Regions from separate parts of the Homo sapiens genome. Here regions 2, 3, 4, 5, 6 and 7 are each linked to region 1. Evidence: promoter capture Hi-C in 16 types of primary human blood cells and fetal thymus (Javierre and others, 2016). All regions are on one chromosome and are shown on one strand. The core of a region is centred on a gene start or on the middle of the fragment in contact, and the rest is flanking DNA. Distances in the headings are between cores, read along the strand shown.

Region 1 (3,882 bases), core at 959-3,458:
CTTAAATCCCCTTGGACATACGGCCCCAGTACAGAAAAGACATTTTTCTCCCACAGGTAGAAATAACTTCTGCCCAGATCTTGGCACCATGGGGTTGAGTGGGGAGCACTCAGTTGCTCCCTCCAATAAAGGTAATTACGGAACAAAGGGGGAAGTTGGGAGTATGCTCAAGTCAGGCTTAAAGGCCTGAATTTATAAAATGTCAAGTTGCAGGGAGTCTTTTAGGCAGGAGAAAGGCTACCACTTTGTAGGCCGCTAGGAAGTGGGGAAGAACTGGGCCCTCTCTCCTACAAATTTATTGTGCTTGGTGTGTTCATTGTGGATCTGGGTCCGAAAGAAGGGTAATAAGGAAACCACTAGTGCTGTTTTAGATGAGCTGACTGCTTTGATTCACAAGGGGACCCAAATCAAACTAAACCCCCTCCTCTTCTTCCCCCCACAACAGCTAAACACCAGCTCCCCTCGCTGGTGGCTTCTCAGGTTTTATTAGCACTTCCAGAAGACTTTGCCATCCACAGAAGACGAGTTATCCGAGAGCCATGATGAATCTCTTCCTCACAAACTCACAGGCTGTCTTGATCCATCATCAGAGAGGACCTGGAGCTGGCCAGCACCCTCCCAAGTTCGGGAGCTCAATATGGAGGGCCCGTTCCAGGTCTACCTCTCATCCCTTCAGGGAATAATCCTTGCTCATGGAGGTAGTGCCCTGTCCTCCCATTTTCCCATCAGCTGAGCAACATTACCAGGTGCACCTTCCCCCAGGACTCCTGCTCCAACATTCACAAAGGTTTTCTGTCATCTTCTCTGACCAAGAAGCTCTGGCCTGGTGCCAAGATCTCTCACAGTCTGAGCCCCCTAGGCCCATCCATCTTTTTTTTTCTTTGTCCCGTGCCATCGTTTGGTGTCCTAGCGCCCTTCCCCAGGAAGGTTGGAGGAATAGTGGGTTACTCTGTATGGAGCAAATATGTGAATAAATAAAGCCTTAGATCTGTGCCTGGGTTCTGACAGTCTAGAGAACGCGCAGAAGAAAGTATTAATGCAATTAGGTCACAAAATTATTTGTCCTCTTTTCAGATGTTTCACATTGGTCCACAGTCACAAAGCTTTATTGTGATTGTGTAACAACTGGAGTAGTTGTGAAAACACTACCCTTTAAATGTTTGAAAGCAGAATGGGAAAAAAATGTTGAACTAGAAGGGGGGAAGCTACATTGAATTAAGTAGTAACTGTGCTCCAAGTCCAGGGACCACGGACAAGTGGCTTGGAAAGTGGGTTTTCCAGACTAGAGGGAGGGGTGAGAATGCCAGAGCCTGGGGCTCACGGTGAGCTGGCCTCCAACCGGGTGGGTTTTCCCACCATTGTATGCTCCTTTCCCTGTCGCCAGCTTGGGGAGGGTCCCCAGGGGAGCCCTGGGCTTAAGGCAGTGGTGTTATGCAGAGTCTGTAACGTTGTCATTGGTAAATGATGCACAGGGTAGTTACACAAGCCCAGATCGATGGACGACTCAGGCAACGAATCGATCACTTTTCCGGGGAGAATTCACCCTTTATGACCTGCAGAGGGTCAGGTGGTTCGTCCAAAGAGGCTCTGGCTTGAAGGATTTAAAGCTGGCCTTTTCCCCATTCCCATCTCCTCCTCGGGGGCCTGGGCAGTAACAGCCGGGTAATAAACTACTTCTCATTAAAGAGATCTGGGGGTGGAAGTTGTAGGGGGACATAAAAGTGGGGACAAAAAGGCACAAATCCGCTCCGAGGCGGAAAGCCAGGATGGGGGCGCGCGGGGCTCACTTTCCCCGCTCCCTCTCCCCCCGAAGCCACCCTGAGTTTTTGTGCCTAGCGAACTAGCCCGGTGCTGCGCCAGGCCGCTGGCTGCGCGCTGGGCTCGGGTGGGGGCTCGTCGGCCCGCCCCTGCCACTGGGGCCGGGCTGCAGCCCCCTCCCCGTCGCCCCGAGCCCCTCCCCCGGCCCGGAGCCCCTCCCCGCGCGCTTCCCCTCTCTCCCCTCCCTCCCTTCCCTTCCCTGCCTGCCAGGCCCTGCCTCCGCCTCCTGCGCCCACAGCCTCCGCCAGCGCCGATCCCCCCGGAGCCCGAGCCGGAGAGCGGCGAAGGGGAGCCGCCGGCCCCTCCCCAGGACGCTGACAGCAGGCTCCGGGGCCCCCGCCCCGTCCCCTCGCCGACGGGACACACCCCCGCCCCTCCTCTGCTCCGCCAGTTCCCGCCGGACCCACCGGGCGGCGGAGAGAGCGAGCGGGCGAGCGCAGCGCGGCGGCCGCGCGGGAGTGAAGGGGCGCGCGGCAGGCCGGCGGGGAGTCCCCCGGGGCGCACGGAGCCCGCGCGCCCTCCGGGACCCTCCCCCGTCCCTGGGCCGGACCTGTGGGCGCCGGGAGTCCGGGCAGCGTTCGGCGCGCCGGGCCGGGGTGGCGGGCGGCCCCGGGACCCCGGCAGCTGGAGAAGGAGCCGGAGCCCGGCCGGGATGAGAAGGTGACGCCGCCGGGGGCGCCACTCGCTTTGTGGGGGAAGATGCTCGCCTACTGCGTGCAGGATGCCACCGTGGTGGACGTGGAGAAGCGGAGGAACCCCTCCAAGCACTACGTGAGTACAGCCCCCGCCGACCCTGCTGGGGGTGGCCCGAGGTCCCGGGAGGGCCCCGGATGGCCCCTTGCCCCTCCCAGCTGTGAGGTCGCGAAGCTAAGCGCCCACTGGGCAGCCAGCAGCCGTGGAGTTTCTTCGCAGGGCTGTGATCTCCAGGGAAGCCTCTTCTGTCCTTCCTCCTTCGCACCCCCGCCCCCCCGGTTTCTTTTTTTGGCATTGGAATTGGCAAGTGGCTGCCCTTGTCTGTTACAACGGTGAAGTCATCTGTCCGCCTTTGATGGATGGTGGGGGGAGCTTTCGTCAACCCCTCACAGAGCAGCCCCGTCGGGAAAGCGCATCTCCTCGGCCCTCCCCAGGGGCCCTGGGCGCTCACGCTCACACAGCCCGAGATGCTTTCAGAGCTCGCCCTGGAGAAGGAAGCCTCGCGCCCTGCCTCCCACGCCAGCTCTGTCTCTGCCTTCCTAGGCCTGGGGCTGGGGGCAGAAGGAAGCCGCCGCCCCCTTGCCCAACCTCCACCCTCCGCGCTAAGCTTTGATTTCCCTCATAAAGCCATTGTGTCCGTCGGTGTGAGGAGAATTGTGGCTTTTCCTTTTATCCCTCCTCTGGACGTGACCCTTAACCGGGTTCATTTCCTCTTAAGTGATGCTCCATCTCCAGACACGAGGAGGCGAATGTTTGCTGTGGTCTCCGAGGAACCGCCCCTCCCCCTTCCTCCCCCAAACTTTAATGAGAAGGGGTTAAGGTTGACTGGGGCAGCTCCAGAGCCTATGTGACAGTTCCCCTTTCATCTCAGCCGGTCCTGTCTTCCCATCCCTCACACCTTAGGAAGTAAACACGGTGTCCTTGACCCCTCTGAGCGTCTGTGCTCCTGTACTTGAGATAGAAGAGACCCAAGCACAGAGGACTGCATGTTATTTGCAAATTGGGTATTTAGAGGAGCAGTTCCAGTGCTCAAAGCATTAATCTTAACAGTTAAAACAGGCGCTGGTTGCTGCCCTGGATTGTACATTGATCTCTGAAGTGCCTTTTCTTCCACTGTTGCAAAGGGACTGGGGTTTGTGGCAATGTCAGCCTCGGGCTACTCTTTTTGCCTTTGTCACCAGTGTAGCTCTGAACTTTGAGTTTCTTTACAGCTGAGCAAATGCGGCTGGGCTCATATGGGGAGGAGGTAAATGTGGAGGCAGGTTGACTAGGCAGGGAGGTGGGTGCCTGTCGGGTCCAGTCCCTGACACCCTTAGAGAGTTGTTTCTTTTGTGTCATCTGGTCCAGCAAGCATTTTCTGCTGCTGTTACA
Region 2 (3,882 bases), core at 724-3,223, 420 kb after region 1:
TGTCTCCTCAAGTTTAGTTTATTCAGGCTATTAAAACAGTCTTAAAACTCCAATTGGCTGGGTGCGGAGGCTCACTTTGAGAGGCCAAGGCAGGCAGATCACTTAAGCCCAGGAGCTTGAGACCAGCCTGGCCAACATGGTGAAACCCTGTCTCTACTAAAAACAGAAAAATTAGCCAGGCATGGTGACACAACGCCTGTAATCCCAGGTACTTGGGTGGCTGAGGCACAAGAATCGCTTGAACCCAGGAGGCAGAGGTTGCAGTGAGCCAAGATTGCGCCACTGCACTCCAGCCTGGGTGACAGAGCAAGACTCTGTCTCAAAACAAAACAAAACAAGAGCCAAGATTGTGCCACTGCACTCCAGCCTGGGCAACAGAGCGAGACTCTATCTCAAAAAAAAAAAAAAAGAAAAAAACAAGAGACCAATTTTTGCTGAACCAATGGCTAAGACACAAATTTAAAATATCCAGTGCCAATAGTGGTGTGAGAAATGGACAGTCATATTTACTGTTAATGGGGACATAAATTAGCACAGTCATTTTGGAGGGTATGTAACCCATCAATTTCACTTCTAGGAATTTATTTACCAAACATACCTGCATTAGTATCCAAATATATGCAAAAGGGCCAGGCACCGTGGCTCATGCCTGTAATCCCACCACTTTGGGAGGCCAGGATGGGCAGATCACCTGAGGTCAGGAGTTCGAGACCAACCTGACCGACATGGCGAAACCTAGTCTCTACTAAAAGTACAAAAATTAGCCAGGCGTCATGGCGCATGCCTATAATCCTAGCTACTTGGGAGGCTGAGGCAGGAGAATTGCTTGAACTTGGGAGGAGACTGCAGTGAGCTGAGATCGCGCCACTGCACTCCAGCCTACGCACTGCACTCCAGCCAGACTGCCTCAGTTAAAAAAAGGCTGTGTCTCGCGCCACTGCACTCCAGACTCTGTCTCACGCCACTGCACTCCAGCCAGACTCTGTCTCAATTAAAAAAAAACAAAAAACCCAAATATATGTACAAAGATACTTCAACATTATTGTCTATCAAAAAAAGTATTGTCTATCAACAGAGAATTGGTTACACAAATTTCAATTAAAAAAACCCCAGAATACTAAACAAACGTTTTAAAATAAGGTAAAAGGACAAAATAGATTTTGATATATTAGCATAGAAAAGGAAAAAAATTCATGATAAACTATGAGAAAAAAACAGTATATCAAATGATATTCTATTATTTATATAAAGAAAAACTATATATATATGCATTAAAGTCTAGAAAGATAGAAATCAAAGTACATAATGGCAAAAAGTGGTAGAGAAACAGAGGGGTTACAGAAATTTTCATTTTCTATTTCATATACCTGTTTTTCTGATAAAAAGTCATGTATTACAACAACGTTTTTTTTTAAATATACCAATTCCACAGACAGGTGAAAAGAGGAAGAACACTTCGCTTACCTGACAACCTTCTGGGGGACGAAGTCTTCCAGGGGCGTCTCGGAGTAGGAGTCACTCATGTGAAATATACTGACTGTTCCTATCTTCCCAAAGGGGAAGGAGACGGTCAGCCCCTCGTTGGGAGTCACCTTCACCACTCGGCCCATGGCCACTTCCCCTTCCTCAAGCTTGTGAGGACCTGGTGGAAGAACCAACCTGATTCAGGGAAGAGGAAATGAGCTAAGGGAGGAGCGGGAATGCCAGCCACACACAGGCTGGGGAAGGTGGAGGCTGCCCAGACTTGGGGTATCTGGGCTGAGTGATCCAGAACCATCTAGACTGAGATCACCCTGCCATGTAGCCAAGGACCTCAGGGCCAAGTGGTGGACAACTCTTTCCCAGGGACTTGAGAAAAACACCTGTGTAGGTAAGGGTAACCTGTATAGGTAAAGGTAACTCAGAGAGCAGTGGAGTAACTGGGCCAGAGCAAAGCCCAAGAGAAAAACTGTTCCAAGAAGGTCCCACACCAGGCTTTCTGAGGATTCCAATACCGAAGGGGTCCTCCAACTCAAGCAATAGCTGAAAACCCATCCCACCCCTTCCTGCCGCTCCCCTTCCCCGACCAGGCACTGTTTCATCCCCACACCTGTGAGGGACAGACATAAGAGGGTCTTGGAGGAATCTGGGCCAACAACGGTGGCCCTCAGGGCCTGGCCAACCCGGAACTTCTTATCTGGATGCTTCAGAACCTGGAAGGATAAAAAAACTCCTGTGATGCTTGAAGAAAGGCTGTCATTTATCCAAAACCACAGCATTTAAGTCTCCAAAGCAAGTATCTCCCAAAGCAACCCTTAAATAAAGAACAAGCTTCCTCAAATCCACTGTAAACCCACACACCAGGCACTGGGCCAAGCTTAGGGAACTTGGGTCCCCTCTCCAGGGATCTCAAGCACACTGACCTTGAAGCTCAGAGAAGTGAGCAATAAGGGAATTCTCCCCCGGATGTCTGGGGCAATCTCCACCTCAAGCCATTTCTTCACCACATTGTACTGAGGGAAAAAAAGGAACCAGAGTAGGGCAAATACAAATACAAGGTTTCCCGCCATTAAAACTTTCCTAAAACCACAAGGTGGAAAGGGCCCCAGTACACTTTTCCAAGAGACAGGAATCCACCCTTCCATCCCACTGCCCTTGCCCAACCTCCACTTCTCACCAGCTTCCCTCAGACTCCAGCTCAGAACCTTTGCTAGCCTAGCAGAATGTGCATCTCTTCCAGGGTCTCAGCTGACCAGGAGGCAAAAGAGACTCCAGAGATGTCCTCAAACTGGAGAACCAATCCCACAGACCTCTGTAGCCTCCTCCAAGCTCAGCTGTGCCCAGCGATTGTTAACCATCTCCAGAGGCCAATTTTTAATTTCTAAACCAATTTGGATTTGGATCCTTCACTGTTTATGCAGTGTCTTGCCCTAAATATGCACTCCAATTTTCTCCTTTTTTTTTGAGACAGAGTCTCGCTCTGTCTCCTAGGCTGGAGTGTGTGGCGGCAATCTCGGCTCACTGCAATCTCCACCTCCTGGGTTCCAGTGATTCTCCTGCCTCAGCCTCCAGGGTAGCTGGGATTACAGGCGCGCACGCCCCAGGCCCGGCTAAATTTTTGTATTTTTAGTAGAGATGGGGTTTCACCATGTTGGCCAGGCTGGTCTCAAACTCCTGACCTGAAGTGATCTGCCCACCTCGGCCTCCCAAAGTGCTGGGATTACAGGCGTGAACCACCACACCTGGCCGTAAATACATACTCCAATTTTCTAGTCAACTTAACAAATCATTTATCGAGCAGCTACTATGCACATGGCATCATAATGATAAATAAAAGCCAGAGCCTGCCTTCAAGGAGATTACAGCCTACAAGCAGTAAGTCAAATCAGTGTGCAAATAACTACAACAGCAAGCAACATGTAGGAAGTACAACATGCTACAGGAACTAGTAACGAGGGAAGGTTATCTGTGCTGAACCTTGATGGGCAGTAGGCAATTGGAATAGAAGGTACTCCAGATGTAGAAACCAGCATGAATAAAGACAGGAAGGGAAAAAGACAGAAAAGCTTTTCAGAATGACTGCCACACAAGGTGCACGGAAGGTCAGATTATGAAGAGCCTTATCTGCCACGCTAAGGCATCTGGGGTGTATGAATGTCTATAGACAATAGGTAACTGAAGGGATCAAGCATCAGAGACGATCATGCTCAAAGATGCTCATCGAAGAGGAATCTGGCAACAATGGAGAGGTATTATTCTTCAAGGTCAAACCCAATCCAGCCGCCTCTCCTACATGTTTCAACCAGTACAGGCTGCTTTCCTTCCTTTTTGAACTCCTGTTCCAGTTGGGGTTGGAACACATAATCTGGCACCCAATTTCATGTTGTTTTACAGTGCACCTGA
Region 3 (3,882 bases), core at 509-3,008, 410 kb before region 1:
TTTCAATAGATGTAACAGATGCAGAAAAACCATTCAATAAAATTCAACATTTATGACTTTTTTAAAAATTAGCAAACTAGTAATAGAAGAGAACTTTATAATGAAAAAAAGGTTTCTGAAAAACCTACAGCAAACATCATGCTTACTGATAAAATGTTAAAATGCATTCCCATGAAAGACAGGAACTATGTCTTCTGTCAGTAAAAACTTCAGGCTTAGCATGAATGAAATATTTCAAGGCCAAGAGACAGACTCCAAGGCCCAAATGTCAGCTGTCCCCAAAAGAAGGTAAAATACATCTGGGCTTCCCTCAAGTGTCTGTACTGTTCATTGCAAACTTTTTCTGGTGGGAAATATTTAGTATGTAATACTAAGTGGACACAGGAAAAAAAGCAGGACACAGAATGATATCTATGCTCTGATTAGAGCTATATTAATTTTTTTTAAATATATGGACAAGGACTGCAAACAAGCATGGAAAACTGGATACATAAAAACTTGTGGAAACGTGGGTACAATTTCCTTTTTCCTTGTTATTTTAACATTAGCAGAATATTTTAAAAGCAAGCCCATGACAAAGTCTGTTTAGGTGTTTTGATTTATATCTTAAGCAGGACAGCTTTCTGCTTTATAACAGCAGTCTGCTGTAAACAAAAATGTTTAGGGGAATTTTCCTAATTACCTTAAAGTGACTTGGAAAGTGGGAATATAAAGAAAAGAATAGGAGGAAAAGGAGGGTAGATATAGTTATCGTTTACTCTGATGATAGCTAGGAGAAATAATTACCTCCTCTAGCTTGGTAAATTCTTTACGAAATTCTTCTTTTAGGCCAGCATAGTCTTCTTTATTTTGGCTTCTAATAAAGCTTCCTACCAAGGATGGCACCTAGACAGAGAATAATTTCTTAGTTTATCAGTTTATGGCTAACTGTATCGGCCCCCTCACATAAAAATATGGTAGAACCCTTACAGTCCTGGTGTCAAGGTGTTCTAGAAACACCAAGGGTGCATCAAGTTCCTGCGCTCACAGAGGTAATGGACTGGTCTTAGGAACAGTTTTGTGGCCTAAAATGCTGGCTTGGTCAGGATTTTATAAATTACAAATAACAGAAGCTACCCTGGCACGTTTAAGAAACAACTTTCTTTCTTTTTTGAAATGGAGTCATGCTCTATCACCCAGGCTGGAATGCAGTGGCACGATCTCAGCTCACTGCAACCTCCACTGCCCGGGCTCAAGCAATTCTCCTGTCTCCGCCTCCTTAGTAGCTGAGATTATGGGCGTGCGCCACCACGCCAGGCTAATTTTTGTATTTTTAGTAGAGATGGGGATTCACCATATTGGCCAGGCTGGTCTGAAAACTCCTGACCTCAGGTGATCCATCTGCCTCAGCCTCCCAAAGTGCTGGGATTACAGGCTTGAGCCACCACGCCCGGCCAACACAACTTTCTTTAAAGGAGACTGAGTGGCTCATAGAATTATTGGGAGGCGGAACAAACAGGCTTGGAATTAAGACAGAACATCCCAAATTCATGCTGAGAAATGGCCTAATGGGAAGCACTCACTGCTGCCAGTCCAAGCTGAGCACCAGATGCTTCAGTTTGTGAGGCTGCCAGAAAGTAGAGTCTGAGATAACTGCTAACACCACTGGCACTGATGCCATTTCTACTCTGGAATTTTATCTTGTAACCCACACTGCTGAAACCCAGAAGCTCTGCCGCTGCTCTCACCAGGAAAACCAGTGGAGAGCTGAATATCTTAAGCAGATATCCCACCAAGCCTGTTTCCTTACCTTGCTCGTTTCTGATTTGAACTCTATGTGTGTGTCTGACAGGAAGAGCCTAGGTCACAAAACTTGGCCCCAACTGCAAAGAGCTAGGGAAGAAAATTTTTCTGATTTCTTTGTTGGGGAGGACACCAGGAGACTGTTCAAAAGGGACCGACTACCTAAAGACTTGATGGGTGTAGCATCAGATGCTTTAATGCTCGTGATGGTGTTTATGTGTTTTAATACTTTGGTCTTTGGTATCATTTTATTGCAAGACGCAGAAGTCCACTCATCCTAGTTTAAGTAAACAGGCACTTGTAAAAATATAGAATCCCATGAAATCCCATCCACATCAGTTCAGCCTGCCTTCACTGGGACTGAAGGCTTTCAGGCAGCCCTTTCATCCACATTTCCACCTGGGTCTGCCTGGTCTTTCGTCTGTTTTTCCTCACATTTCTGCTCCATATTACTTTGCATACTTCAGTCCCTTTGCAATGTTTTTAATTCTTGCTCCTCTAAAAATTTATTTCTTAAGTGGCTTTGGTTTTTCTAGCCTCTAATTAACATTATTTGAGCCCCAACGCTTAGTTGTCTTTACTGTCCTAACCTTTACTGTCTTAGTTCTGTGTCTCATTTCCAAGTTCCCAGGAGAGAAGATAACTGGCCCAGGTGTGTGGGGTGGGGTACATTTCTGTTCTGATGGGCTGTGGCCAGGAGAGCAGGGTCATATGTACATAAAGCCACCTCTCCTTTAAAACCCAAGCAGGGAAGTAAAGGTGGGCATCTTCAGCATTACTTTTAAATCTCATTTTCTTTCTAGATAGTACAATGAATCTCTTGTGACTACTTTTTAAAGTAGTAGCTTTATGCATGAAAGTAAAGCTTCATGTCTAAAAGCTTTACTTTTAAAGCTCATTTTCTCTGACGTGTCCTACAAGTCCTTTCACGATCCAGTTCCTGTTTACCTCTCCAAAGTTACCCCTTTTATCTCTTCTCCTGACACTTTATATTCCAGCCATACTAAAAAAAGTTTTCCAGAACTGGCACCAGACCAAAGAGATTTTTCTTTAAGAACCACTTAGGCTTATTTTTTTTGGTTGGTATTGATGACTTCGTGTCTTGAAGCTGCATGCCTTTAACTTGTTACTACTTTGTAAAACTCTCCCACATCGTTCTTGAAAATGTCATGTTCCCTTTACATTATCTTTCACAGCAGCCGCCTCTACTATTCTTTCACCCTCATCTTACTAAGCAGATGACTCACTCTTCCTGTCCCATTGGCTTCCCTTTATAATGTCTCCTAAAACAGAATGTTTTCCCTATAACTCTCTCTTAGGGCATTTCTTTAACCATCTTTTTCTCTAAAGATAATCCTTTATATACTGACCGTACTACCAAGGTGACAATGTTATAGGCATATAACCAGACATGCTATTCTTGGTGTCTAAACACACATCTTTTAGTCATTTCTTTGTTAATACTAATTGTTTGAACTAATCCACAGTGTTGATGCTAAGTAAGGTACAAACAGTTCTTCTACAGGATTGCTATTTATTCAGTCATCTGAGTTATTGCCAACACAAAGTAGATGCTCACTGCTTGATGCTATGGCTATAAGGACAAGAATTAAGTAGTTCCCATGTGTCAGACTCTGTTCTGGGTGTTTTATATTAACTGATTTTTATCTTATGAGGTGGGAACAATTACTATATCCATTTTACCAATGATGAACGGAGAGGCAAAGTAATAAGTAACTTGCTCAGAGTCACAAGAAAGTAGCAGAGCCAGTCATAAAACTAGGCAGTGAACTAACAGTGATCAAAACACAGCCCTCACCCTCAAGGAGCTCACAGCCCCAGTGCAGTACACAGGCAAGAAGGCAGGCAAAAGTTCACACGGATGGGAACTCAGAAGCTAGAGCACTAACCAGCCTGCCAAGCTCCTGAAAAGGCAGCAGTGTCGGAGCAGACATGTGAAAAATGACGTGGAGATAACCAGGCACAGTGAGAAGTGGGAAGAATCTGACAGCAAGAATTGAAAGAGAAAGGGGCGAATTTGGGAATTCTGAGAAAAGTTTAGTATGGCTGGCATATATAAAGTGTCAGGAGACGAGTGAA
Region 4 (3,882 bases), core at 477-2,976, 390 kb before region 1:
ATCTCTACTAAAAATACAAAATTAGCTGGGTGTGGTGGCACATGCCTGTAATCCCAGCTACTTGGGAGGCTGAGGCAGGAGAAGAAGCTCTTGAACCCAGGAGGCGGAGGTTGCAGTGAGCCAAGATTGCGCCATTGCATTCCAGCCTGGGCAACAAGAGTGAAACTCGGTCTCAAAAAAAAAAAAAAAAAAAAGACAGTGGTAGAGTATGACCTTCTAGGGGCACTCCCCCAGAAAAGGGCAGAAAGCCTCAGATGGCCATGTGTACAACTTCCTAAACACACTGTGTGTGCTCAGTTCCCAAAGGTAAAGAGGCATTGTGCGTGTGGGCAGCCCACCCTAAGGGAAGAATTATGGGAAAGGGGCTAGCCTATAAAGTCCTAGGATCAAGGTTAAACATTGCGCTTATTCTTCAAGTCGCATGCTTGGATCTCTTCCAAGTGTACTTTCCTATCTTTCTTGTTCTAAAGCCTTTTAAAATAAACTTCCACTCCTGCTCTGAAACTTGCCTCGGTCTCTTTTTCTGCTTTATGCCCCTCAAATTCTTTCTTCTGAAGAGGCAAGAGTTGAGTTACACACCTGTTCTGATTTGCCCCCCGTAACTCAAATACCTTCCACCAGTAAAAATAGTGCCACCCATAGACCCCACAAGGTGTGCCCCTGCCATGGGCCCCACCCTTTAGAGGGCCTACACCACTGTCATGTGGGATCCACCTCTCAACACTCTCCCAGCATGATGTGACTCTGAAGATCTGCCACATGACTTCACGTTAGCCCCATGTCCTTGAAACAAAAGGCTACTGTGTTTGGACACTGTGAGGTTTGTGTGTTGTGCCTCTTTCAACATCAGAGATGGAAACTACTTAAGGAGTATGGGGAGGGTGGGAATGCTTGGATAAGATAAAAGATATTGGCCAGGTGCTGTGGCTCATGCCTGTAATCCCAACACTTTGAGAGGCCAAGGCAGGCAGATCACCTGAGGTCAGGAGTTACAGACCAGCCTGGCCAACATGGCGAAATCCCATCTCTACTAAAAATACAAAGAATTAGCCAGGCGTGGTGGCGTGTGCCTGTCATTCCATCTACTCGGGAGGCTGAGGCAGGAGAATAGGGTGAACCTGGGAGACAGAGGTTGCAGTGAGCTAAAATTGTGCCACTGCACTCCAGCCTGGGTGACAGAGCAAGACTCCATCTCAGAAAAATATATTAAGGAATTTGTTGACTCCCTTTTTCAGAGAGCATGAGTGTATTCATTCATTCAGTATTGCTTTGTGAATAATTAAGTATTGTTTCCCAGTACAATCAAGTGACTATTTTCTTGTGTCTCTTTGATTCCAACTCCATTTGGTTCCAGGGGTTGTCATGAGTTAGTGTGGTATTGGCAATAGCTGCACATGGATGCTGAAGAATGTTTTGCAATATAGAAAAAAATGTATTAGTCCTACATTTCTGTAGGTATGTAGGTCTAGATATAACATGTATGAAGCTTGATACCAATTATTTGACAACTAGATAAATAATAAATATTAGAATTGCAAATTTATATAAAAATATGTAATAAATTTCATTTAAATTAAAAATATTTGCTTTAAAAATTTTTGATTTGAATTTTTAATTTTCAATCTTATAATTTGTATTTGACTTTTAAATTTTAAGAACTAATTTGAAAATAATTGAACAAATGATTTATGAGTCTCCATTAATATTCTTGCCTTAGAATTCTAGGTAAGCGTAATGTGACAATCCCCTCTGTCTTGCAAAATAACCTTCTCATTCTTCTTCATTAAAACATTATTTAAAACCACATGTTCAGTGTGCTATTTTCCTGAATGTTGACCTACAAACCCTTTCTGTATTTAACCTAGTGTAGTTATTTCAGCATCAAGAGTAAAGGAAGCATCTTGGGACACAAAATTTAGTCATAAAGCTATACTCCACAGATATCTCGAAAATATTTGAAGCTTGAAAATGAAGTCTGAATTTGTAGATTAAACGCACCAAATAATAACATTCAGCCATTTTCACTAAGTGGCCCAGGATATCCATAACAATGTAGCCTCTTCCCATATTATTTATTCTAAAACTTTTGGAAATTATGAAGGATTTCCTATTTTTCCTCTCTTTTTCCAGAAAAATGCAAAATTTAAACTAAATGTCCAATTTACTTTGAAATTTACAAGTCTGCTGGAAAGAAGAGTTATTTTCAGACAATTAACTACCTGAATTCAAGTTCATTTGAAACTTGTGAGATGTTGGGCAAAAAATCTTAACTTTCTGAGACTCATCTTTCCTGTCTCTACAATAAGGATTAAATAATACAGGTTTTATAAGGATGTACAATGCCAGGCACAGAGGAGTGGCTTAATATAAGTTAGCTATTATTATACAAACATGCGTGGATGCGGCGGCAGAGCAGAGAGAAAAACTGTGCAGAAGACGTAGACTTTAGGCCAGACGCAGTGGCTCACACTTGTAATCCCAGCACTTCGGGTGGCCAGGGTGGGAATATTGCTTGAGACCAGGAGTTCAAGACCAGCTTGGGCAACATAGCAAGACCCCATCTCTACAAAAAAAAAATAAAAATAAATGCAGACTTCAGGGGCAGGTGAACCCATGATTGAATCCAACTCTGCCTACTAACTAAATGTGTAATCTTGAGTCTCACTCATCTCTCTGAGCCACAGGTTCCTATGTAGCATAGTTGGTGGGAGCATTCAGAATCTATGGAGCTCCAAACACGTAATAGCTGCTTAGTAAATTGTGGTCATCGCTGCTATAAAAGGGGTCAATTGCCATAGAATAACTAGATACTCTCTATCACAGCAGATTATTCCTTTATTTTAAAAACATTAATTATTTACATTTCTTTTTACACAGAGAAACAATGCCAACTTATTTTTTTGACTTTTTGCATAAACAAGGTGCATTTCACAAAAAGCAAATAATTAGCTGATAAACAGGAAACCACTTACTCATCTACTTAATAAAATAAGTTCTAGTATGCTGTATGATTTTTTTCCCATGTTTAAATGGTCATAGAAAACTTAATTAATGGGTGAAAAACTTAGTGAAATTTCATCTTGCAGATTATCTTGGAATTTGGCTGGAACCCTACAGAAGCCAGGACTGAAATGATCCCTTAGTGGGAAATAAGGATTTTTTTGTTCTGTGACTGGCTGTGGACTAGTTTGGTTTTAGGGCTTGCTCCATGAACTTGAATTAACCACTGCTCTTTTAGCCTTTAATACAAGCTGAGTTCTACAAAAGTATAAAACCTCACACTGAGGATTAGGCGTATTCTGTCAAGGACTAGGCTGTTGGTGGCAAGGTGGAGATTTGCCAGGGAAGAGAAGATTGGGAGGGGCAAGGCCAGTTTAGGGGAGTTGAGCCCTTCCTAAAAATGGTGGAACACACTGGTTATTACTTTAGGAAGCCCAGGACTGCTCACTGGGTCACTGATTAGAGAAAAACTTGTGTGTCTTAGATTTTGTTTCTAATACCCATAAATCTTTCAATGTGAGAACTGGAACCGATTTTCCTAACTTATCCTTCCCAGTCCATTCTCTGGGATGATCTGCATTTCCCCTTCCAGAATAAGAAAGAAAGACCACTCATCCTTCTGTAATCTGGCACGGTGTAGGGGTCAGGTAATCTCTTGCATATCAGAACATTCTGGTATCCCCAGAAACTCAGCCAGAGACCTCCCTTTCCATCTAAACCATAACACCAAGATTTCAAGAGTAAGATACACACAAGACTGCCTTTTCAATTTGATTCCATTCAGTTCCTCTTTTGCTGTAACACAGGGTAAGTTCAGCTTCCCAGGGTCACTGCTGATTCCAGGCCAGCATCTCTTTCCCGAAGTCTATATTTCCTGCCTAC
Region 5 (3,882 bases), core at 820-3,319, 370 kb before region 1:
GAAACCCCATCTTTACTAAAAATACAAAAGTTAGTTGGGCATGGTGGCGCATGCCTGTAATCCCAGCTACTCAGGAGGCTGATGCAGAATCGCTTGAACCCGGGAGGCGGAGGTTGCAGCGAGCCGAGATCACGCCACTGCACTCCAGCCTGGCAACATAGCAAGACTCTGTCTCAAAAAAAAAAAAAAAAAAAAAAAAAAAAAAGTAGAAAACATGGTAGAATAGAGGAGTGATTCCAGGAAGGGGAAGAACTTTTCACACAAAACAAAAACTTAGAAAAGACAGACATATTTGATTGTATATCTGTTTTAAACTGATTAACATCAAAAACACCATGAAAAATTAAAAGGGAAATAATAAACCAGGTAAAATATTTGGAACAAATATGATCAAATATTTTCAGAGCATTAATGAAACAAGAACAAAACAAACAGCCTCTTAGAACAATGGAAAAGAAATTAACCCAGACAAATCACTAAACTCCAAATAACCAAAGACATCAAAAAATGTTTCATCTCAAGATTTGTTTTAAAAAGTGTGATTTAAACCAAGATGCTATTTTTCTGCCTATCAAGGTCACAACTTTTTTATGATCATAATTGCTAGGTAGAATGCAGTGAAATTGGTAGCACTCTTATTTGCTGAAGGTGGGACTATAAATTGATAGAGTCTTTCTGTGAAATAAATATTGACTCTATTTGACCCAGTATACTCACTTCAAGACGAATTCAATTTTTAGGAAATGGTTAGAAATATGGTCAAAGATTTACATGCAAATGAGCTTAAAAAGCACTATGATAATAGCACAAGGTTGGAGCAACCTACATCTCCAGTATTATGGATATAGTTAAATAAAATATACTATAAAGGGGTATTATGCAAACATTAAAAATCACACTTTTAAAGAAGTGTTAAGATAATGATAAAATGGTCAATATAACGTAAATAAAAAACCAATAGGAGGCAACACTATGATCCAATTCCATTTAAAAATGGATTATCATATATTATATATATATGATGAGACAGAGTCTTGCTCTGTCCCCCAGGCTGGAGTGCAGTGGCGCAGTCTTGGCTCACTGCAACTTCCGCCTCCCAGGTTCAAGCGATTCGCCTGCCTCAGCCTCCCAAGTAGCTGGGATTACAGGTGCTTGCCACCACACCCGGCTAATTTTTGATTTTTAGTAGAGACGAGGTTTTACCATGTTGGCCAGGCTGCTCTCAAACTTCTGACCTCAGTGATCCACCTGCCTTCCCCTCCCAAAGTGCTGGGATTTCAGGTGTGAGCCATCTCGCCCGGCCTCATATATAATATTTAATCTATGGCTAGTATAGCTATAAAAAGCAAAGTTATATTTAAAGAAAATATATATGTATGTATTTTTTCAAGTAAACACAGAAGAAAAGACTAGAAAGAAATTTACCAAGTTTGGTAGTAGGATTATAGAGGGTATATTTTTCTCTCTTTTTTTTTGGCATTTTCTTCAAATACCATATTTTCTAAGATTTAAAGAATATCTAAAGTTGGTCATCTTCAATTGTGGGGGGAAACGTCTGTTTAGCAAGCATTTAAAAATCATTAAGATCTCTGCCTACAGAAAAACTAGTTTTTGTAGTGAATGCTCAATAAATACATTTTTTCTTTGTTGATTAGACTATGCTAAATATATTCAATAAATGACAAAAGCAAAATTTTAGGATTATATTATGGTCAATTAAAATGAGAATGAGAAAAAAAGCAGAAAACAGCTATTAAAAATCCACAGAACAAGCAATAGAGACACAAACATACAAAGACAGACTGAGATGAGGGCAAAGCTTGCACCTGTGGAACCCCACTGAAGAACAGCAGATGAAGAAGAGGGAAAATCAGACCACTCTGTACTGGGAAGCAGAGACAGGCGCTTCTTGTTTTGGCCTCCCCATGATACGCATTTTAAAACATGTTGTTGCTAAGACTTTGGAATTCATGTTGCTTTTTGTCAACTATAGGTACAAAGGAGTATGTCACTTTTTATAGCTGTTCCAAAAGCTGGCAGATATTAAGCTAAGGGCCAGATATGGCCTAAGATAATAGAAATAAGGAAGTAAGCTAGAATTATTACAACTTCCCAAGATATTTAAAGATGTCTGAATAACTATTCTAATTACAATGTCTCATATATTTATGAGATTATTCTTGGGTCATTTCAGACCATGCTGGGACATACATGGTGCGGTATGCTCAGTTCTGCATTGAAGTCTAGAGACAGTAACCTAATGGTCTTAATTCACTTTAATATATTTTACAAATGGATCTTAGCTTTGCTCTAAGCTTTCTGTTCATGGTCTTAGAAATTAGCCAGGATCTTTCTTATTCTAATAGTTAAATGCTTTTGAATTACGTGAAAATCATTAGCAAAGGAAAATAAACTGTAAGACCATAGTTAACTGAACATGGTCTTAACATAATCAAATCCTGATAATGGATTTTATATTTTAGGCAACATTCTCCTGGACTACACTTTACTTTCATTCAGTTACTGTGGCACCTACCTGGCTAGTTACTCCTCTCTCCCAGAATTTGAACTGGCCCTTTGGTAAGTTTCAGCATCCTGTGGAATTCCTTTTACTGGGTTACATTTTCCTCTTACTCTTCTGGATTTTATCGAAGGAAATAGACATGAAAAATCTGAAACAAGGAAATATAGAAGGAAAAAATGCCAATCACAAGTTTTAATACAGTTGCTATGTTTAGGCATAAAATTTGGCAGTCAGAGCAAAAACTATATAAGAACTAAATTAGTTATTGTCATTCTCTTTCATTAACATGCTTTATGTATTCTCAGATAGAGAATATATTTATAAATACATAAAGTTTCACTTAAAAAAAACAAATGGCATCTTGGAGTTGTTCGTATGTTTCCTGCTAATATTGAAATTGAGATGGTCTCTATATTAGAGTTCAGTTTAAAGTAATTGTTGTTAGAGACATTAGAACAATTATATGTTCAGAGAGTGGAACATTATACCACTTTTGCCCACTGTATGGGAAATCCTGTGGTTAAGACACATTTCTAGTCTTTCCTGGATCATTTCACGTGGCCAACTTTAAGGCTATACTCCCTTTTCTATCCATGATATAAGCCCCTTCAAGAGGATATTTTTCTTATTAAGGGGAAGTACAAAATATTCCAGAAATGATTAAAGGATAACATACTAACATTTCTTATACAAAAATGTAAGTACCTAGATTCAGGGAGCCACATTTAGTTTATGTAAATTTTTTTTTTTTTTTTTTTTTTTGAGATGGAGTCTCACTCTGTCCCCCAGGCTGGAGTGCAGTGGCACGATCTCAGCTCACTGCAACCTCCATCTCCCAGGTTCAAGCAATTCTCCTGCCTCAGCCTCCCGAGTAGCTGGGGTTACATGTACCCGCCATCATGACCAGCTAATTTTTTGTATTTTTGTAGAGACGGGGTTTCACCATTTTGGCCAGGCTGGTCTTGAACTCCTGACCTCAGGTGATCCACCCACCTTAGCCTCCCAAAGTGCTGGGATTACAGGCATGAGCCACCGCCCTAAAATTTTTTTAAAACAGCTTTATTGAGGTATAACTAACAGATAATGAACTGTTCATATATAAGGTAAATACTTTGATAAGTTTTGATTTATGTATAAACCCATCACCGTAATCAAGATAATAAATACATCCATCGGCCAGGCGCTGTGGCTCACACCTGTAATCCCAGCATTTTGGGAGGCTGAGGTGGGCAAATCACGAGGTCAGGAGATCGAGACCATCCTGGCTAACACGGTGAAATCCCATCTCTACTAAAAATACAAAAAATTAGCTGGGTATGGTGGCAGGTACCTGTAGTCTCAGCTACTCGGGAGGCTGA
Region 6 (3,882 bases), core at 605-3,104, 360 kb after region 1:
GAACCTGAAGCAAGCCTTGGTTCTCCTCATCTGTAAAATGGGTATAGTGTGATTAGCTCTGCTCTGCTGACTACCCCAAGCAGTGTCCATGCTCACTGAAAATGTGTTTGAGAAAGTTCGATGCCTTGTGTTAAAGGGCACTATTGTTATCCTTCTCATAACCTGAGGAGCTTAGGAAGTGGGGTATTCTTTCTGAAAGCCCAAGGGCTTCCCTTCCTGGCTTTTAGCCATCATGCCCAGGACAAGTGCCACTGGTTCTGAGGTGACAGAAAAGCACCTTCCGGAAGGAATTTAGTAGGGTCTGAGGGCCCGGGAGGACCCAGCAGTGTCTTCCAAAGGTCAGAGACAGCATTGGAAGATCCAAGACAGGAATGGCAGGCTCCGAATGGGGAGACTGGGCCTAGGGCCACCCTGAGGGTGCTGAGTGGATCTGGGGAGGTGAAGAGCAAAGACATTCCTAGTAAATGTCCCTCTGTTTCAAGGCTCCCAGACCCTCTTTTCTAGGGCTCTGACTGGATATCTGGTCTTTGGGAAAACCAGAAATCAAACTAATTCAATGGATGCAAAAACCCAACGGCTGCAAAGGACCCCAGGAACCAGCAGCTCTGACCCTTTCTTCCAGGCTGCTGTAATCCTGTCCTGAATTTTTAAAACCCTCCCATTGGAAATGCAACTAGTGCTCCCAGCCTGGTCTCTCCAGCCCTAGGGCCGATGGAAAGGAGACCCATCGAGGTGCCTCCCTGGAGACACGGACGACCCAAGCTTCCCTCCTCACTCCCCACTCCCCTATCGACCTGGCAAACATCCTTTCCCATCTCTTCAGGCTCGCCTAAGACCATGGCCTGAGGGGACTCCAGTGACGTTCCCAGTGCCAGCAGACAGAACTGCGCAGACCCCGCGGGACGCCATCCTCCATCACCATCATCGCCGGCTGCCCTCCACCCCCAGCCCACTCCACGGCCAGAGGTGCATCTCCGGCCTCCAGACACGCACAACAGGTGGCGTCTGCCCGCCCTCCCCAACCACACCTCCCTGGCCCTCCACCTGCGCCCCAGTCCTCCAGCAGCGCTCGGCCGGGGAGCCTACCTTTGAGGTTCTGGGGGTGGCCCCGCGGCGCGCGGCTCGGGTTTCCTCGGGGCAGCGAGGGGATACTGGAGAAGTTGTTACCCATGGCATCCGGCCCCAGGAGGTTCGGCGCTCGCGGGTGGGGGCGAGGCCGGGCAGGCGCTGAGGTGCGGTGTGCGAGTGTGCGCGCGCGGGTGCGCGCCACCGGGGGAGGGCCCTGCTGGGGCTGCAGCCGGGGGCGGGCGGGCAGCTCCTCAGCTTCCTTTCTCTGGACTTCGCGGTCCTTGGCGGGTTCCGCCCGCCACGGGTGTCCTGGCGCAGGCTGGGCTACCTGCCTCCCATGCCCCGTGGCGGGAGCGGGGGCCACAAGCAGGGCCCTGGGCCGGGGCCGGGGACGCCCGGGGCTCCCCGCTTGCTCCCCGGGACGCTAGGGTTCCGGCTGGGGGTGGGCGGCGCGGCGGCTCCGGCGCGCTCCCCCGGGGCCATAGAGTCAGGGTCGCTGGCGTGGGCGTTCGGCGGCTCCGAGGCAGGCTCGGTTACCGCCCCGCGGAGACGGCCGCGGCGGCGATGTGCGTGGCTCCCTCCCGCCCGCGGGTCTGCGTGGAGCGGGGCTCGGCGGAGCGCGGGGCGTTCTGGGCGCTCCGACGCAGCTGGTGTCCCCCGACCGCCGCGGTCCCGCCCGCGCCGGGTCCCTCCTGCGACCGCCGCCCCCGCCCCCCGCCCCGGCAGTCTCCAGGATTCCCTCGCTCCGGTTGTTATGGTGACAGCTGCGCCGGTGAATGAGCGTCTTAGTGACACGCGCGCGCCCGCTAGGCCAGATGTGGCCCCGGGGCGCGCCGCGTTCCCGTAGCCGCAAGCTCTCGGCGGCGCGGGTCGGGGTAAGACATCAGGCGAGTATGGTGGCACCCGGGGCTGGCCTTATTCCCAGCACGGAAACATGGAACTTGCACTTGAAAACAAGGGGAGCAGGGCCGCGAGAACGCCGAGCTCCCCGGATGCGGGGGCGGGCGAGCCAGCACTAATGTTCGGTTTCCCTAGCTCCAGGTACCGGGCCTGGCGCAGAGTGGAGAGCCCAGGGAAACATGTAAATGAGCGAGCGGATGCTTGGATAAAGTAATTGAGATTAGAACCCCGGCACTTGACCCTCCGTTCTCAGCCAGGCTAGGGGCACTAGGGCAAGGGTTCAGAGCAGGAACCCCGGGCAGTCTCACTGATGCACAGATGCCACTGAGGGCCTTTGAATGCCCGCGGACCAGACTCACAAGCCTGGAGCTCTGGCCAAGCTGAGGGAACAGATCTCCGGGACAGATCATCAGAAGACCACCAGCTCTGAACTGAGTGGTTCTGTTAGCTATAACAAGGTGGGGGAGAGGAGCCTCTGCAGCCTATGGCAGTCAAAGAAGGCTTCCTGGAGGAAGGGGGTTTCAGCAAGGGCCCTGCTCATGTGGCTAGTGCCTTCCTGTAGCTCAACACTGCACCAAGAAGCCTTCAGGAAGGGAAACAGAAGTCATTCTTCTCCTTCCTGGACCCGGGGCATCTCTCCTGGTCTATCAGGGATGGAAGATGTTCCAAGGTTCCCCCCAGGGAATCAGACTTCCTGCTCCTCTAAGTCATCTCTAGCTCCCTGCTCTGGCTTCAGCAACTCAGATCCAGAGTCCAGTGAAGACATGGGTGGGCAGGGGGACATCTCATGTATCCTTTTCTGTAATAAAGGTTCTTCCCCCAAGTCTCCATTTGGCAGCTCCTCATTATCTAGGCACAATTCGTGTCCTGACATTCCCTGACTGCCCCAACTAAAGGACCCCCTCCACTGTCAGTCACTTTCCACAATATTCCATTTTATTTTCATCATAGCTTTTATATGGAACTTGTTTACAAGTAGCCTTTCCTCGTTTATCTTCTGCCTCCCTGCTAGAACATAAGCTCTGTGAGGGGAGAGCACAGGTCAGTCGTGTTCACCAGGGTGTCCTTACCCACTGGGGGAATGCCTGGCATGTGACAGATTCTCAGAAAATAATTGTGGAATGCATGCTTCCCACTGTGGGCCAGGAGGCTCCACTGAGATCCCTGGGGGCAGAGCCTCCTGAACCACCCTTTATTTTCCTCTCCTACTCTCCTCTCTCCATCCCCATTCCAGGCATTCTACCCTTAAATGTCTGGGACTCCAGGCAAGCTAGAAATATCTGTGACAGCCACTGTCTCTCTGGAATCTGGAGGGAAAGGCAGCCCCGAACCCGGCCTCCAGCCTCCCAGATGCCCAGGATCACGTGTGCAGGCAGCTGCAGATGGCCACAGCAGGTCAGGGATGGCTGTCTTATTTATGGGCAGTATCTTCCCAAGGCTCACTCCCAGCTAATGACTCATGCATCAGAAATCCACAGGCTCTTAATGGCAACACACTCACACATGTGCTAACACACCGCTACACTATCTCACACACTCACACCTATACAAGCACACACACTTATATTCCCCCTGAAATCTGCCGGAATGAAGTCACTGTGAGTGGCCACTAGAATCAGGCCTTTCACAAGTTAGAACAAATATGAGGACTCTGCATAGTTGAGACTCATCCTGCTAGAGTGTGTTTGAAGTACAAGGGCCTAGCTAGGATTTACAGACGGTGGCTCCAGGGAAGCCTGGTGTGGGCAGGGGAATGGGGGAGGGGATGAGGCCCCAAAGGTAGAGCACAGCAGGGATGTCTTGAACTGCTGACCTCAGGTGATCCACCTGCCTCGGACTCCCAAAGTACTGGGATTACAGGCATGAGCCACCGCGCCTGACAAAGGGATGTCACAGGCCCCACATGGCCTAGAC
Region 7 (3,882 bases), core at 702-3,201, 350 kb before region 1:
TTTAAAAAAAAAAAAACTATGCTAACTTATGTTTTAATAAATAAATGACTAACTTAAAATATCTATGGAGAATAGGAAACTAGGAAAAAGATATCATAAAAGAAGGAGGAAAGACCCAAATAGAACTTCTAAAGAAGAAAAATACACTAGCAAAGTAAAAATTAAATGAACATGTCTGACAAAAGGTTGGACATAGCCAAAGAGAGAATAAATGAATTCGAAGATAGATCAGAAGTTATTCAGAATGATACTAGAAAAGCAAAAGGGTAGGAAATACAGAAGGGAACATAAGAGATAAGAACAATACAGTGAAAAGATCTAACATATGTTTGATTAGAGTCCAGAGAGGAGAAAGTGGGACAGAGGCAATAATTAAAGAGATATTGACTGGGGATTTCCCAGAATTGCTTAAAGACATGAATTTACAGATTTAAGAGGTCCAGTGAATCCCAAACAGAATACATAAAATGATATCCACACTTAGACTTACCAGAGTGAAACTGTTGAAAACCAAAGACAGAGAAAATTTTAAAAGCAGTCGGAGAAAAGACAGATTACTTCTAAGGAATTTCAGTTAGACTAATAGCTGACTTCTCTGTGGCAATAATGTAAGAAATAGTGGAATAATATCTTCAGTGTAGTGCAGGGTTCAGCAAATTGTGGCTCCATGGGGCAAAACTAGCCTGCTGCATGTTTTTCAAATAAGATTTTATTGGAACATAGCCACACCCACTAACGTATTGTTTATGGCTTCTTTCACACCACTATGGCAGCATTAAATAGTTGTGGCAGAGACTACATGGTTTGCAAAGCCTAACATATTTACTGTCAGCCTATTTATAGAAAAAGTTTGATGACCCCTGATGTAATGAAAGAAAATAATTACCACCTAGAATTCTATACCCAATGAAAACATCTTTTCAGTATGCGGGTGAAAAAAGACATTTTAGACACTCCAAAGCTAAGAGTGTGTCAGCAGCTGACTATCACTAGAGAAAATTCTAAAGAATTTACTTCAGGCAGAGGAAAATGATCCCAGGTGGGAAGGTCTATGATGCAACAAAAATAAAGAGCAGTAGTAATAGGTGGAGAATGACACATTGTAGAAGATGTACAGTAAATGAACACTGCATACAACAGCAAAAAAAAAAAAATGTGAAAGTAGTTTTAAAAATAATATTGAACTAAAATCCCAAATAACAATAATATAAGTTGGGGGGGGCAGAGCAGGGTATATAGAATAAAGTGTTCCAAGGATCTCATATAACCCAGGAGGAGAATAAAGCTTAAAGTAACTTTTGATGTTGATAAATTAGGTACACATGTTACAACTTCTAAGGTAACCACTAAAAGAATAGGAACAGTAGATGAAATTTCCAAACTAGAGAAAGTGAAATGTAAAAAAAAAGTTTAACCCAAAACAAGGTAAAAAAGAGAAAGAAAATGAAATGCAAAACAATTGAGATAAACAAAAAGCATAAATTAAAATCTATGTTTAAACCCAAATATAAAAAGATGGAAAAAGATATGTAAACATTAACCAAAAGAAAACCAGTGGAAATATATTAACATTAGACAAATTAGGCTTTAAGGTAAAAATCATTACTAAAGATAAATGGGCTTATTTCAGAATAATAAAATATTAAATTTACCAGGAATATATGAATACTTAAAATATGTATGTACCTAATAGCATAGCCTTAGAGATTTAAAACAAAGCATGACAGAGTGACAAGGAGAAACAAAGCATTGATATTAATGGAACATTTTAATACACTTCTTTCATTACATGATAGAATAAACAATGTATTCTCAACATAGCAGCCAAGGTGAGCAAAGCATTTTTCTCTACTAGGCAAAGCCCTCCAGTGATTTCCTGTCATTCTGAGAAAAAGCCAAAATCCTTACTATGTTTTTAAAGGCCCTTCATGACGTGGACTCCAATCCCCACCTCTGGCCTTATCTGCTACTACTGTGAACTCTTGTCCATCCTGCTCCAGCCACACTGGCCATCATGCTGTTTCCTTGAATCTGCCAGACATGCTTCTCCCTCAGAGTCTTTGTACTGGCTTTTCCCTCTGTCTGGAATGCTCTTCCCACAGAATCTACATGGGTAGTTTCCTCATTTCCTTTGGGTCTTTTTTTTTTTTTTTTTTTTTTTTTTGAGACAGAGTCTTGCTCTGTCACCCAGGCTGGAGTACAGTGGTGCGATCTGGGCTCACTGCAACCTCCACCTCCCAGGTTCAAGTGATTCTTATGCCTCAGCCTTCTGAGTAGCTGGGACTACAGGTGTGCGCCACCATGCCCAGCTGAATTTTTGTATTCTTAGTAAAGATGGGGTTTCACCACATTGGCCAGGCTGGTCTCAAACTCCTGGCCTCAAGTGATCTGCCCACCTCAGCCTCCCAAAGTGCCGGGATTACAAGCATGAACCTTCAAGTCTTTTCTCTAAAGTTACCTTTGTTCCCGGACCGAACTGAGGGTTGGGCTGTTTGTTCTCCTGGCCCAATAACGAGATGCAGATGAACTGGGAAAGAAGGGAGTTTATTTCTGTAACCGGGTGCAGGGAGAAGGCTGGGAAAATATCACTGGACCAACTCAATATTACAAAGCTTTCCAGAGCTTATATACCTTCTAAGCTATATGTCTATGTGCAAGTGTGCATTCATCTAAAGACGTAAGTGATTAACTTCTAATATATAACTAAGGCCTGAGTCCTGAAGACCTTCCTCTGGAGCCTCAGTAAATTTACTTAATCTAGATGGGTTCAAGTGCCAGGTATGATTACCCTTATTTTGTCTCCTGCTAAATCATGGAGGTTTGGGGAGTTCCTTAGACCCCCAATAAAGCTTGTTTGTGGAGGTCTGGGGATTTTCTTCAGACCCCCCAATAAAACTTATTTAATTCTAAGTGGGTCCTGTTGAGAATTCCTTCGTTATCTTGTCATGCTTCAAGGCCCAGGAAAGGCCTAGGCAAAACTCTTGGTGGGGTTTTGTTACATTCAAGCGTTTGTGTAAGGGCACTGGCTCTATTAGCTTTTAATATTTAACTTAACCACTCAGTCATTGCTGAAACAGTTGTCATGGAGGCCTGCCTGTTCAGCTGTTAGTGAGACCTGGCCTGCCACACCTTCTCACTGAAGTCTTTCTTAAACATGCACTTTAAAATTTCACCCTCTTATTTTGCTATATAATGTTCTCCTTCTCTGTTATATTTTCTTTTTCTTCTTACAATTATCACTGTTTAACTTACAGTATATTTTATTTGGTTATATTATTTATTGTCTGAATCTCCCAGCAGAAGGTAAGTTCCGTGAGGGCAGGGGATTTTGTCTGTTTTATCCTCTGCTGTAACCCCAGCATCTAAAGCAGTGACTGGCGCTGTGTATCCACTTAATATTTATTGAAGAAATGAAAGAAAGATAACATTAGTAAATATCTACCAAATTTTGAACTCCTATAAAGTCATTTTTTTTAGATAAATAACACCAGAAATATTTATGTTTAACTCAAGTAAGCGTGAAGAACTTGTGATTAGCTGAAAGCAGACTTCTTATTGCTGGTTAAGTGACCATATTATATTACCAGCTACTTGGTAGAGATGCATTCATTACAGAACAGATTTTTTTTTAGAGGTGAGTTTGGGAGCTGAAAATAATAAGCATAAAGTGACAGCTTCAGCCATACCTCAACTATTTCTACAAAGGCTTGTTTAAATGTTTAGTGTTCCTTCCATTATATTTAGCATGTGGTAGGATTTAGTACATCTTAACAACTTTTTGGGTTTTACACATTTTCCAAATTTTCTACATAAATAGATATTATTTTTGAAACAGGAAAAAATGTTTTGTTATGTTTTGTAAATTAAAAAATAAATGTCTGG

What was found. Contacts are between HindIII fragments. The CHiCAGO score rates a contact against its expected background, and 5 or more counts as called.
Region 2: a fragment that was not itself captured here is called in contact with the fragment with the promoter of SH3PXD2A in region 1 in 1 of 17 cell types (M1 macrophages); the score reaches 5.1 in M1 macrophages.
Region 3: a contact is called between a fragment that was not itself captured here and the fragment with the promoter of SH3PXD2A in region 1, in 2 of 17 cell types (megakaryocytes and M1 macrophages). The highest score is 6.1, in megakaryocytes.
Region 4: a contact is called between a fragment that was not itself captured here and the fragment with the promoter of SH3PXD2A in region 1, in 2 of 17 cell types (M1 macrophages and M0 macrophages). The highest score is 5.8, in M1 macrophages.
Region 5: a fragment that was not itself captured here is called in contact with the fragment with the promoter of SH3PXD2A in region 1 in 1 of 17 cell types (total CD4 T cells); the score reaches 5.3 in total CD4 T cells.
Region 6: a contact is called between the fragment with the promoter of NEURL1 here and the fragment with the promoter of SH3PXD2A in region 1, in 1 of 17 cell types (erythroblasts). The highest score is 6.7, in erythroblasts.
Region 7: a fragment that was not itself captured here is called in contact with the fragment with the promoter of SH3PXD2A in region 1 in 5 of 17 cell types (naive CD4 T cells, non-activated CD4 T cells, fetal thymus and 2 more); the score reaches 9.2 in naive CD4 T cells.

Annotation. Positions count from the first base shown.
Region 1 is chr10:103,853,902-103,857,783 of GRCh38, reverse strand. SH3PXD2A (SH3 and PX domains 2A) reads left to right here and starts at 2,208. Exons shown (of 15, transcript NM_001394015.1): 1 at 2,208-2,589. The coding sequence starts at 2,518. The HindIII fragment of the contact is 2,015 bases long and covers 1,106-3,120 here.
Region 2 is chr10:103,432,558-103,436,439 of GRCh38, reverse strand. It overlaps PDCD11 (programmed cell death 11), which reads right to left. Exons shown (of 36, transcript NM_014976.2): 23 at 2,403-2,492; 24 at 2,090-2,192; 25 at 1,465-1,642. Among named protein-coding and RNA genes, the nearest start is that of CALHM2, 18 kb to the left of the region's middle. The HindIII fragment of the contact is 679 bases long and covers 1,634-2,312 here.
Region 3 is chr10:104,259,982-104,263,863 of GRCh38, reverse strand. GSTO1 (glutathione S-transferase omega 1) reads right to left here. Exons shown (of 6, transcript NM_004832.3): 4 at 787-885. The region is part of intron 1 of LOC124902497 (a long non-coding RNA gene); the gene reads left to right. Among named protein-coding and RNA genes, the nearest start is that of MIR4482, 6.5 kb to the left of the region's middle. The HindIII fragment of the contact is 1,782 bases long and covers 868-2,649 here.
Region 4 is chr10:104,240,185-104,244,066 of GRCh38, reverse strand. No RefSeq gene overlaps it. Among named protein-coding and RNA genes, the nearest start is that of CFAP43, 9.8 kb to the right of the region's middle. RefSeq lists an enhancer at 642-936. The HindIII fragment of the contact is 475 bases long and covers 1,489-1,963 here.
Region 5 is chr10:104,224,159-104,228,040 of GRCh38, reverse strand. It overlaps CFAP43 (cilia and flagella associated protein 43), which reads left to right. Exons shown (of 38, transcript NM_025145.7): 3 at 2,484-2,580. Among named protein-coding and RNA genes, the nearest start is that of CFAP43, 6.3 kb to the left of the region's middle. The HindIII fragment of the contact is 496 bases long and covers 1,822-2,317 here.
Region 6 is chr10:103,491,677-103,495,558 of GRCh38, reverse strand. NEURL1 (neuralized E3 ubiquitin protein ligase 1) reads right to left here and starts at 1,854. Exons shown (of 6, transcript NM_004210.5): 1 at 1,087-1,854. The coding sequence starts at 1,171. It overlaps NEURL1-AS1 (NEURL1 antisense RNA 1), which reads left to right. Exons shown (of 4, transcript NR_120675.1): 3 at 824-998. RefSeq lists silencers at 1,176-1,275, 1,356-1,485, 1,496-1,645 and an enhancer at 960-1,509. The HindIII fragment of the contact is 3,415 bases long and covers 765-3,882 here.
Region 7 is chr10:104,198,953-104,202,834 of GRCh38, reverse strand. All of the region lies in intron 8 of CFAP43 (cilia and flagella associated protein 43), which reads left to right. Among named protein-coding and RNA genes, the nearest start is that of MIR609, 18 kb to the left of the region's middle. The HindIII fragment of the contact is 1,327 bases long and covers 1,288-2,614 here.